2 separate regions of the Homo sapiens genome follow, and region 2 is linked to region 1. Evidence: promoter capture Hi-C in 16 types of primary human blood cells and fetal thymus (Javierre and others, 2016). All regions are on one chromosome and are shown on one strand. Each heading gives the region's core, a stretch centred on a gene start or on the middle of the fragment in contact. The rest is flanking DNA. Distances are from core to core; before and after follow the strand shown. Region 1 holds the start of LHX4 (LIM homeobox 4). Region 2 overlaps ACBD6 (acyl-CoA binding domain containing 6).

Evidence for each region. The method cuts DNA at HindIII sites, captures the fragments that hold promoters and counts their contacts. A CHiCAGO score of 5 or more calls a contact.
Region 2: a contact is called between a fragment that was not itself captured here and the fragment with the promoter of LHX4 in region 1, in 6 of 17 cell types (M1 macrophages, erythroblasts, endothelial precursors and 3 more). The highest score is 8.7, in M1 macrophages.

Annotation. Positions count from the first base shown.
Region 1 is chr1:180,228,013-180,233,640 of GRCh38, forward strand. LHX4 (LIM homeobox 4) reads left to right here and starts at 2,252. Exons shown (of 6, transcript NM_033343.4): 1 at 2,252-2,593. The coding sequence starts at 2,518. RefSeq lists a silencer at 1,693-1,822. The HindIII fragment of the contact is 8,200 bases long and covers 1-5,628 here.
Region 2 is chr1:180,489,238-180,495,280 of GRCh38, forward strand. ACBD6 (acyl-CoA binding domain containing 6) reads right to left here. Exons shown (of 8, transcript NM_032360.4): 3 at 3,032-3,128. Among named protein-coding and RNA genes, the nearest start is that of ACBD6, 10 kb to the right of the region's middle. The HindIII fragment of the contact is 530 bases long and covers 3,122-3,651 here.

The DNA of each region.
Region 1 (5,628 bases), core at 1,002-3,501:
TTGACTAAGATTTTTACATATTTATAATCCTATGCTATTGCATTGTGCTTTTAAAAAAAATAGTATTTCACAAGCATCCCCATGTTATTGGGTTTCATAATTGGTTTCCATGATTCCATAACATACTACCAAACAATTTAATCTACTTCCCTAAGCCACTTTTCTTTTGTTGGCTATTTAGGTTATTTTTCTCCAAAACATAATACTGTAATAAACATTTTCACGCATGAAACTTTTATAAAAAATTCTAGATTATTTCCGTGGAACAGACATTCAAAAGTACTACATAAACTAAAGGGTATGAAAAATTTATGAGTTTGATACATATTGCCAAATTTCTTTCCAAACGGATGTTAAGAGTTTATAAGCACCCAGCAGTATTGGTGAGTGTCCAAGCCCCTTTCGCCAGTCCTGAACTCTAGGATGCCCCTCCCGCGCGTCGGGCATCTCACAAACAGAAAAAGCTGTGCACGTGTTGTTTTGTCTTGCGTGTTTTTCACTGCAAATGAGGCTGGCGTTTCCCCGTGTTTGCTTACTAGTTATATTTCTATAGAACACATTTTGGTAAACACTAAAAATGTCACTGGGTTCTTTTGCTTTTTTCTTCTTGTGTATATTGTCTCGCGCGCGGAGTCACCTCGCAGGTAAACAAGGGAAGAGATGATGCCAACCCAGTACCAGGACACACAAAAGTCACTGTGACCTCATTGGAGACAAATTCTAAGCAGCGCAGACGACCAGGCCATTCTCCCCCGCCCCATGCTCCTCCCTTAAAGGTGAGCAGGTGTCCCTTGTTTGGAGATGACACCAGGGGAAACAGCAGGGAAGGTTCTGGAAGGCTGGGGAGGGCACACAGTCCCCCTTCCCGCCTAAGCTGAACCCCACTAGGCTGGAAGGACACGTATGTCTGCATTTCTGGAAGGAAATGCCGTGGGGGCTGGGGGCAGGAGAGCGGCTGGGTCTTGGGGCAGACGGGGTGGGCTTCCCGCGCCTGCAGCCCGGAGGCGTCGAGCGCCTGATGGAGCGTCAGAGGAGACCTCGTCCCAGCGTTGGGCCTTCTGTTGTATTTCTGCCAGAAACTCGCGTTGAGGAGAATTTGTTTTAAGCGTTTCTCTACCTGTCCATGCATCTCGTAAATACAGTAAGCATGGCAAGCCCTTTCGCTGGTTAACCCCGGCGTCCGTGTGCTCACTGCCGCCCTGCACGCACGAGGTCGCGGATGGTTCAAAGCACCCGCGGTGGCAGCCGGAGAGGCAGAGCGGGCTCTAGGGACCTAAGACAGGGCCGAGCTGGACGACTGGTGGCAGGGCGGCCGGGGAGGCCCCGCCGCGGGGAGGTTTGGGCCCCCTACCCTGCGGAACTGGAGGCAAGTGCGGACTCCGGCTGCAGGCCGCGGTCTGCGGGGACGCGCGCGGGGGGCCTGCGTCCCGCCACCTCCGCGCACAGCCCCTGGTCCCCTTCCCCAGCCCGGGCCGGCGCCGCCCGCCGCGTGACTCGCGCGTTCCGGGCCGAGTACGGGCTGTCCCTTGGCCCAGCCTCAGCCAGACGCGGGGGAGAGAGAGCAGGGGCTGGGAAGTGCCGGCAGGAAAGGAATTGGCCAGGGGAAAGAGGAGGAGGAAGATAGATGGAGTCATCGGTTACGGAGCGCGCTCCGTCCGGCGGAGCGAAGCCGGGGACCGAGAGCGCGCAAGGCGAAGACACAGCGACGCAGCCCCGTCCCCGGCCTCCGGACCGCCTGCCCCGCTCGGCCCCGGCTCGGCTCCGCCCCGCCCCTGGGTCCGAACGGAGGAGTGAGGAGGACACGAGCCGCGCGGGCTTGGAACCCACGAAGACCCGCAAACCCAGGGCGCCGCCGTCTCCGACCACCTGCTGCCGCGGCAGGCCATCAGCAGAATTTATACCCAGGGCGCGAGCCCGCCACGGCTGGGCGGAGGCGGAGGCGGAGGCGGGGAGGGGGGGGGGGTGCCGGCTTGCGAGGCCCCGCCCCGCTCCCTGCCGCCCCGCCCCCCTCCGCCCCGCCGGCCTCACTCGGGGCGCCGGGACCCCCACTCCCTCCGGGGTCGGCTGCCCGCCGCCGGGTTGGGGGATGTGCCGAAGGGCGGGCCTCCCTGCGGAAAGCGACGTCACGGCCGCTCCTGCAGTGTGAATGAATCAAAACGCCCGGGTGACCGCGGCCTCCCGGGCGGCCGGCACGCGAAGGGTGGAGGGGGAGGGGGAAGGAGCGGGCGGGGGAGGGAAGAGGAAAAAAGCCAGAGCTGCAGCAACAGCGTCTCAACCTGGGATGTGCACCAACCCCGGAGAGCGAGATCAAAGGGACTGGAAACAGACTGGGGACTGGCGGGGGGAGGGGGCCGGCCAGCCTGTGGAGTCCTCCCTGAGAAGCGGAGGGCCCGGCTTCCACCGTGACTCCAGCGGCCTGCTTGGGGTTTTAATTATTATTTTGAAATTTCTGAATCGAGCTAGAGCGAGAGAGCGAGAGATCTCCGTAGACTGCGACTCGCTGGCTTTCGCTCCGAGATGATGCAGAGTGCGACTGTCCCCGCGGAAGGGGCTGTCAAGGGGCTCCCGGAGATGCTAGGTGTGCCGATGCAACGTAAGACACCCCCCTTTCTCGCTGATTTAATTCTAACAAGACAGCTAGCAGCCTCAGCCGCTGCGGGGCGGGCCGGACGCCGCTCAGGGGCCGGGAGGGGCTGGCGGCCGGGGCGCAGAGGCGGTCACAGGGCAGGGGCACCAGCCAGAGTGCGTTTGAGGGGGCCAGGCTCTTGGCTGTTTGGGGCCGAATGTGAACGCCTCCTGGATCATGCTTGAGGCGAGCCGAGTACCGAACCCCGCATCTCCAGCCCAAGGCTTTTCTTGGAACGCTGGGGAGAGTGCTGTTTGGGGACACCCAGGGGTACGAGCTGTAGGCCAGGCCTGAGGGCGAGGGTGGTCCCCACAAATCTTCTTTCGCCGGCGTGACGGTCAGCGCTTGCAGGACCGCTAGTGCAACTTCACCCCAGCTGGCGGGAAGTTGGAGAGCGCGTCTCTCGCCCCTGGGGCTGGCGGCGGAGAAGCCCCGGCCACACTCTTAGTCCCTGCGGCCCGCGCCCCGGGCGTGCGTGCCGGGTGAGTCCCCAGCCGCTACTGCCCGCGGCGCCCGCCGCGTGCGCCGCGGGAAACTGACTGCTCCTTGTGAGGGAATCTGCTCGCGCATTCCAGCTAGCCTAGGAATGCAGGGGAGGGAGAAGCGACCGCAAGTTGTGAATTCCGGGTTCAGCCTTTGCGCACGCGAGGGCAGGTGCTCAGGGTGGCTCGGGTTTGGAGGGGTAGAGACGGGGGTGTGTGGGAGCTTTGCTAGCCTGCCCGCCCGCTTTCTTCCCGCGCCCGAAATTAGCGAGACAGCCGGAGCTCGCGGCGTGTTTATCCCCAAGTCTCTCTCTGTGTGTATGGGTGTGCGCGCGCAGAGATTTTCCCGAAGGGAATCCGTCTCTGTGCTTCACTCCTGAGCGAGAGTCCCCGAGAGGGAATCTGTGCAGAGGCCAGAACAGGTGCCCAGTCGTCGCGCGCGCGCGCGCGCGCGCGCGACAAGCGCCGGGAGAGTCCTGCCCCTGTGGCTTGCACGCTCAGCAGGGCGCCCCGGGCACCCTGGAGAGACCAAGGAGTTCCTCGCTCCGCTTGCCAAGGGGTTGTACTTCCGCCTGCGACTTCTTTAGTGGTGCGGTAGCTACATCTTCGGGGTTTACTTTAAGTAAGGGCCGGCTCATCCAGGGATGGTGACTACCTACAAACTAGGGCGCACGAGCGCGCCCTCCTGCGCCTCGGGTTTCCATGGCAGGGTTTCTGTCCGGCGATCCTTCGGAGGGCAGGCGTACCGTAGGCTTCCCTGGGAAGTTTTTGAGAAGGGACTAGAAAAGAATAGCTTCATCCAAGCCTATTTAGATTGTTTCTTGGCTGTATTCTACAGTTATTCTTTGAGTGTTTTCGTGTCAACTGCCGGCAATCAGTTCCACGTCTGTGTTGAGCCTTGGGGAGTTTACCGCTAAGATGTTTTCATAGAAGGCATTGGAGATTCACTACGCCCCACACCCCGCACACAGGCAGGGACAGAGTGGGTTCTCAGCCCCTGCAAAGACGGAAACAGAAACCCTGCAAAGGTGCACCGAGTCCTTAAGCTGCTTGTAGCTCTGCGCGAGTGAGGAGACTGCATGAGTGGGGGAAGGGTGTGTGTGTGTTACTAGTGTCCTTGGTACCCAGTACGTCTGTGCTTTCATGGCTGTGGTCCGTAGGTGACCTGTCTGTTGGGACCCCAATGAAGGACGATGGTCTCTGCTCTGACGGCCTTTCTTGTGATGAGTGACACTCTGATTGTCTCACTTTTTGCCTTCCCTGTTCAGAGACAACTTTGATGTTCGACGTCAGGGAGTCGCTTTGCTAAAATGCCCAGAACTCACCTTCAGAGCTACAGTTTGCCAAGGCTGAGTCTAGGTTCACACTGTGGAAAACTTGAGGTGTACAAAGGAACTTCCACACCCACCCCCCCAGGGTGGCCCAGGGAGGCAATGTCTAATCTAGAGGGGGTGGTCAGTCCTCCCTTTGTCCGAGTTTCGTGACCTTGGTTGGAGGAGGCATCGGCCAAAATTGAGGGGCCCACTCCCTGAAGACTTCTGGATCCAGCTTTTATTTCCTCTTGGAATGTGAATGGATTGTAGCCTCCCTTGCAGCACATCTGGCCTCTGGCTGTTAGGCTGTTGGTGCTGGGACCGCGGGATAGGTCCCCATCACCCACATATACACAACTATTAGTTTTCTTGGGACTGGGCCCAGTGGCCTAAGAAGGGGGGAAGCTCGAGGGGTTGTGGGGCACACCCTTGGGCCTTCCGGGACAGTAGGCTCTTAAACCCTAGAGGAGGGGAGACAAAAGAAACGCTCTCCCACAGGGGTCCCTCCAGTCGCCAACTAGAAGGGTTTCCCTCTCAACACAGACATGTTTGCCTCTTCATCACATGGAGTCACCACGAATGGAGCACTTGGGGACGCAGGTCTAGGTGTCCCCAAGCTCGGTGCCTCTAGTGCCCTCCCCTCTAGGGGCATTTTAGAAGAAGTGATTTAAATCCAGCTTATTTCGGCGGCAGCTGGACTATTCCTTTGCTTATTTGGGGATGGGTGAGGGGCATACCCTTTAGGAAAACGTTTCCAAATGATGTAATAATTTCTCTCTCATCTCTGGTCTTGCTCCAGACTTGGCCTCTTCCTCGCCACTCTGTCCCGGCCTCCCGCCCCCGCAGGCTCCCGTGCGGACTTAGCAGTTCGCGCCGTAGCCCTCCTGGTTTTTTACCGCGCCTTGGTCGCGCGGCCCCCGGTGCGGGCCTCGTCGCTCCGACAGCCCTACAGCTGTCCCTACGGCCCGCACCGACAGCTCGTCCCCGCCACCTCCCTCCGGGCTGTAGGGACGTCGAGATCCGAATCCTCACAGCGCCTGACCCGGGGCCGTGTTGGGTACGGGTACGGCGAGAGCCTTCCGAGCCGCCTCCAAAACTCTCCCCGCGGACCTCAGCAGTCCCTCCACGCGTCGGGGCCCTGCTGGCCGGCCATGCCCTCTGAGGAGACGCGGAAAAGAGCGAGGCATATAGGAAGGTGGGGCGTTTT
Region 2 (6,043 bases), core at 2,137-4,636, 260 kb after region 1:
AAAAGAAAATTATTATTTAACCTAAAAGATAATGAACTAAATGCCAAATCTCTTCTGAGATGGAGGTTATGATCTGCCTCCTAACAGTTTAAAAGTAAAGACAAAAAAAAAAGCTATGAGTCAAAGGGGACCAGCTCAGTGTTTAAACTAAAAACTAAAATGTAAATAAAAAATAAAATTCCTCCTTACAACTGGATTCCAATGTTAAAATACTTTTAGAATAGTATGTTATATATTCTTTTAATGTTATTTAATGTATTAAATATATTAATTTTTTAAAGTTTATTATTTAATGTATTAAATAATTAATTAAAGAATATGAAAGTGCCTTTGGTTCTGCTTGGTTTACTCAAGTGTATGTTCAATAGGTTAGATTTAGACATTTTTAAAAACCATCCTCAACACCTGTTTGGAATCTGCAAGTCGTTTTTTTTTTTGAGATGGAGTCTTGCTCTGTCGCCCAGGCTGGAGTGCAATGGCACAACCTCGGCTCACTGCAACCTCTGCCTCCCGGGTTCAAGCGATTCTCCTGCCTCAGGCTCCCGCATAGCTGGGACTACAGGCACTTGCCACCATTGCTGGCTAATTTTTGCATTTTTTTAGTAGAGACGGGATTTCACCATGTTGGTCAGGCTGGACTCGAACTCCTGACCTCAGGTGATCCACCCGCCTCAGCCTCCCAAAGTGTTGGGATTACAGGCGTGAGCCACTGTGCTTGGCCTGCAAGCATTTTAAGAGTAATAGTTAACAAAATTTTACTAAAGTACTGAAGGTAAGAAATCATAAATTCTGTCTTTTATCAGAATTTATAAACTAAAATGCCTTCATAGGCCAAGCATCACCAATAGTGTAGTATAAATCAACAGGGAAGGATGAGAACACAGTGACTGGACCTGAAAAATACTCTGCCTAAAGGCACTCACATTCAAGTTTTGTTTCATTTCTAAACATTGTGCAACAGTTGTTCAGGCTGAGTTCAGCTCAGGGGGCACCTGTTTTGAGCACTGATTTTCAGATTTTAAGCCCTCAGAACCTTGAGAAACATATTTGTATGCATATTTGGTGTCTTATAAAAGATAATAAAATAGAAAATTTCTGAAAATGAAGACTCATGCACATCAGAAACATAAGGAAATTTCTCATGCCTATAATCCCAGCACTTTGGGAGGCCGAAGCGGGTGGATCACATGAGATCAGGAGTTCAAGATCAGCCTGGCCAACATGGCAAAACCCTATCTCTACAAAAAAAAAAAAGAGGCCAGGCGCAGTGGCTCACCCCTGTAATCCCAGCACTTTGGGAGGCCGAGGCGGGCAGATCACGAGGTCAGGAGATCGAGACCAACTTGGCTAACACGGTGAAACCCCGTCTCTACTAAAGATAAAAATAAAAATAAAAAAATTAACCGGGTGTGGTGGTGGACGCCTGTAGTCCCAGCTACTCAGGCGGCTGAGGCAGGAGAATGGCGGGAACCCAGGAGGCAGAGCTTACAGTGAGCCGAGATTGCGCCACTGCACTCCAGCCTGGGCGACAGAGTGAGACTCTGTCTCAAAAAAAAAAAAAAAGAAAAAAAATTTAAAAATTAGCCAGGTGTAGTGGTGTGCACCTATAGTCCCAGAGGCTGAAGTGGGAGAATCACTTGAACCTGGGAGGTGGAGGTTACGTTGAGCCAAGATCCTACTACTGTGCTCCAGTCTGAGTGATAGAGTGAGACTCTGTCTCATATAAAAAAAAAAAAAAAAAAAAAGGACATTTTTCAATGACTTCTAAAAGGCAGTCATATCATTAAAGATATCCAAAGTTGGTTATCACTCCCACTTTGTACTCTTAAGATACATTTTTAATATGTCATAATATATAATCTTTTAAAGTTCCTAACAAGTCTGAGATTTTTAAGATTCCATGATTAATGGAACAAATTCCTTCATACCAGTAACAACTATGTACACATGAAATTATGTAATTATTACAAAAACACTGAAAATTGTTTAATTCATTAACTGCTAAAATGTTTGGCCTTAATATTTTTATTGAAAAAAATTCAATTTGCATTTTTTACATGGTACAATGCAACCTCTATCTCACTGAAATACCTGTTAATCATTTAACAATATTCTTAAATAGTAACCTCACCTTTATTAAATTCTTTCTAGATGTTCTCCAATAAGTATATGAGAAAAACAGGGTATATTTAAGTGAACAATATCCAATGCTTCCAAAGTCCAAAGCAATCCCTTTTCCTGCTGGATTCCCTAGCATTTACATTATTATTGTTTTATACTATTAAAGATATATATTTTGATATGTTTTATCTTCTCTATTACACTTTAAACTACATAATGGCAGAAATCATGTCTTATTCATCTTTTATCCCTAATAAGCATTTTGCCCTTGCATAGAAAGTGATCATAAAAACGAAATCCAAGAGTAACCTTTTTTCCAGCATGATAATCTCAAGTTAAACTCTTTCCAATTCTTATGTAATTCAAATTTTTCTGCTTTCAAAAACTCTGCAACTCAGAGAAGTTCTCAGCATCAGTAGCTGGTTATATTACTATTTAAGTAATTATTATTAATTTTTTTCATTTTTCTGAGATGGAGTCTCACACTGTCACCCAGGCTGGAGTGCAGTGGCCTGATTTTGGCTCACTGCAGCCTCAGCCTCCCAGGTTCAATTGATTCCCCTGCCTCAGCTTCCTGAGTAGCTGGGATTACAGGTGTGTACCACCACGTCCAGCTAATTTTTGTATTTTTAGTAGAGATGAGATTTCACCATGCTGGCCAGGCCGGTCTTGAACTCTTACCTCAGGTGAACCACCTGGCTTGGCCTCCCAGAGTGCTGGGATTACAGGTATGAGCCACCACACCTGGCCAGCAATTATTTTATTAGATAAATATTACAATAACTTTAAAATATTTCAAGAAAGTAAAACTTTAAGCATGTTACTTAAAACTAAGTTTAGTTTTAGACATTTATTTCAGAGAAGGATCATAAGTTTTTGGAAAGTATTATTTATAATCATTAAGTCTTACCTGAGGATTCCAACCTGGATCTAGTTTTTTAACTACTGCGATATATTCCTGCATTGCTTGGCTGGGGCTTGAATCACCAAGTGCTTTCCAAGCTTCCCTACAATATGGAATATCCAAAATGGCCTGTCATTATGCAAATAACACAAACAGCATTTTTCTTATTATTAAAAAAACTGTATGCACATTTCAAGGGTCTCTGAATATAGAGATAATAAGCTATGGATAGAGAAGCTCTGTCTTTTTGCATTTACATTGGTCTAGAGCTATACAGACCTTATTGCCCTACCTAAGCAGTCTTTTCAGACATTTTTTTTCCTAATCGTCCTCCCCGTGAAATTTTAAAAACACAGATACAATGCATAGCTATTAAATTTTGAAAGACCACAAACCACTGTAATCTAAGATTTTATAATTTCCTCAAACAAAATTTCACCCCTATTGAGGATATATGATCTACAGACTAATAGAGATTATTCTCATAAATTAACTGTGCTTATGGCATTTTGGTCGTACAGAAACTAATCATCACATAAAAAACAATATTCCCAAGGAAAATGCATCAAACTTCTTACTAAGATACAAGAAATCCACCTTCCCTTTCTGCTGTTATCTCATCTATAAGCTTCTAGTAACTGATCCTGGGGACTTAGTCTGGGACTTCAAAAGTAAGGGATGGTGAGGGCAGAAATAAGAATACTGGCCAGGCTTGGTGGCTCACGCCTGTAATCCCAGCACTTTGGGAGGCTGAGGCAGGTGGACCACCTGAGGTCAGGAGTTTGAGACCAGCCTGGCCAACATGGTGAAACCCCATCTCTACTAAAGATACAAAAATTAGCCAGGCGTGGTGGTGTGCGCCTGTAGTCCAGCTACTCTGGAGGCCGAGGCAGGAGAATTGCTTGAACCTGGGAGGCAGAGGTTGCAGTAAGCTGAGATGGCACCACCACACTCCAGCCTGGGCAACAGAGCAAAATTCTGTCTCAAAAAAAAAAAAAAAAAAAAAAAAAAAAAAACAACAACAGCAACTAAAGAATACTAATGAGTAAGTTAGGGACTTCCTACAATATAAATGGCAAAAGCAACATTTTAGTCCTGAGCTTCCTTTTGGGTCATCTACCCCCCTGCCCCCACAACAGGCTGCCAGGACAGGCCTTCTTCTTGGTTTTTCCCTGCCAATTCTTTCTAAATTCCAACCAGTGTTTCTCGATTTCCCTGATTTGCTGTCAAACAGAACTCAATCCCACATTTTTTCACTACCTTCCTGCTTCTATGATGAATATAATATCTTTCTGAGGTTTTCTAAATTTATTTTCACTGAATTCCTTAAGAATTACTTATACGCATCATAACACTTCATCCCTAAATAGATCAGCTTACACAAACTCAGGAAATTTATCATCAATTACTATTATACAATATAGAGGCTATACATTCAGATTTTCCTGATTGTCCCAATAATGTCCTTTATGGCTTTCTTCTCCCACACCAGGAACCAATCAAGATCCACACACAGCATTGAGTTTCATGTATCTTCAGCTTTTTTGTCTTCCACATTGTTGGTATTTTTTAAGAGTCCAACTGTTTTATAACATATCCCTCAATTTGAATTTGTCTAATTGTTTCCTTACCTACAGTGTTCTTGCCAAAAATGATTAATCATGATTAGAATTGGGTTAAATTATTTCAGCAGAGTAATATATAGGTGACATGCCCTTTTCAATGCATCACACTGGGGGCACGTGATGTTAGTCTGTCCCATCATCAATAAGATTCATGGTTTGGTAACGGCAGTAACTGTCAGGTTTCTCTCTCATAATTAAAAAGTAAATGGTGGGTCAGCCTGTAACCCACGGTTTTGCTCCCCAATAGTTTTTCACCTAGCATTTTAACAAAAATTTTCCTCAATAGTTTTTCTCTAACAGTTCCCCAATATTTTATCATCTAATATTTAATCATTCGTTGATGTTCTTGCATAAACTATTATTATGGTGGCTATAAAATCTAAATTTTTTAATTGCTAAAAACAATGGAGAAACAGGCAAAGCACAGAAAAAAATAAAGGTATAAAATTTCATAAATTATAACAAAAAACTCACTGTCAACGTTAACATCAGGTATTCTTTAGAACAGTAATAATATGTTGGCTGGTTATCATCAACCAAAAAACTTGTGCAAGAATATAATCAATGCACTGCTTCCTTCACTGAGACTGTCCTATACAAAAAAAAATCAGCTGAACTAAACAGCGTGGTTAGTGACATACGTGATTTATATCTGGGTTCAAGCTCTGTATCTCCTAACAGTTGGGTAACAAACAGTTGGCAGGCAGGAAATGTATCCAGGGGACCAGATTTTATGTGGGACTGCTCTAGAATGTAAAGTAAGAACCCATATTTTATCACTTCCTCTCTCTATAACCATATTTTATCTTTTTTCTTTTCTAACTCTACCTTCTAACCTTAATTCCAGGGCTGATGCTCCAAAGCCTTCCCTTCTATAACTAAGATTCCCAGTTGTATGCAATTTCTCTTCTTTCACTTAGACAAGGTAAGAGAAGATAAGGTCTCATAAATGACAAGGGGGAACTTCTGAATTATAAGTTAAAAAAGTTTGCAAAAGTATACTCTTTTTTTTATATATTCAGAGAAAAAGAGAAGTTAGTATCTGGTTTTGGCTTTTCACTGAATTTTTCCCTTCTTCCCAAGAGTACTATAAGCAGTTATTTACTGTGGCATGGGTGGGGCAAGGAACACAAGAGTAAGTAGCAAGAGACAGGGAGATAAAACTGGGACAAGGAAGATGGGTGAAAAATGGGGATTTATCCTGCTCTTCTGCCCTTCCCATCATTCTGGCCTTCTTCCAAAAATCCCTCCAGAGGGGAGAAGTGGTGATCCATTAGGGGTTGAATGACAGGAAAGGAAAATCTCAAGCAATAGCTCTCATGGTATTAAAATGTAAGGCATGTATGTCTGTTGTGAACCACTTATATTCCAACATGCTAGCATAAGAATCCTT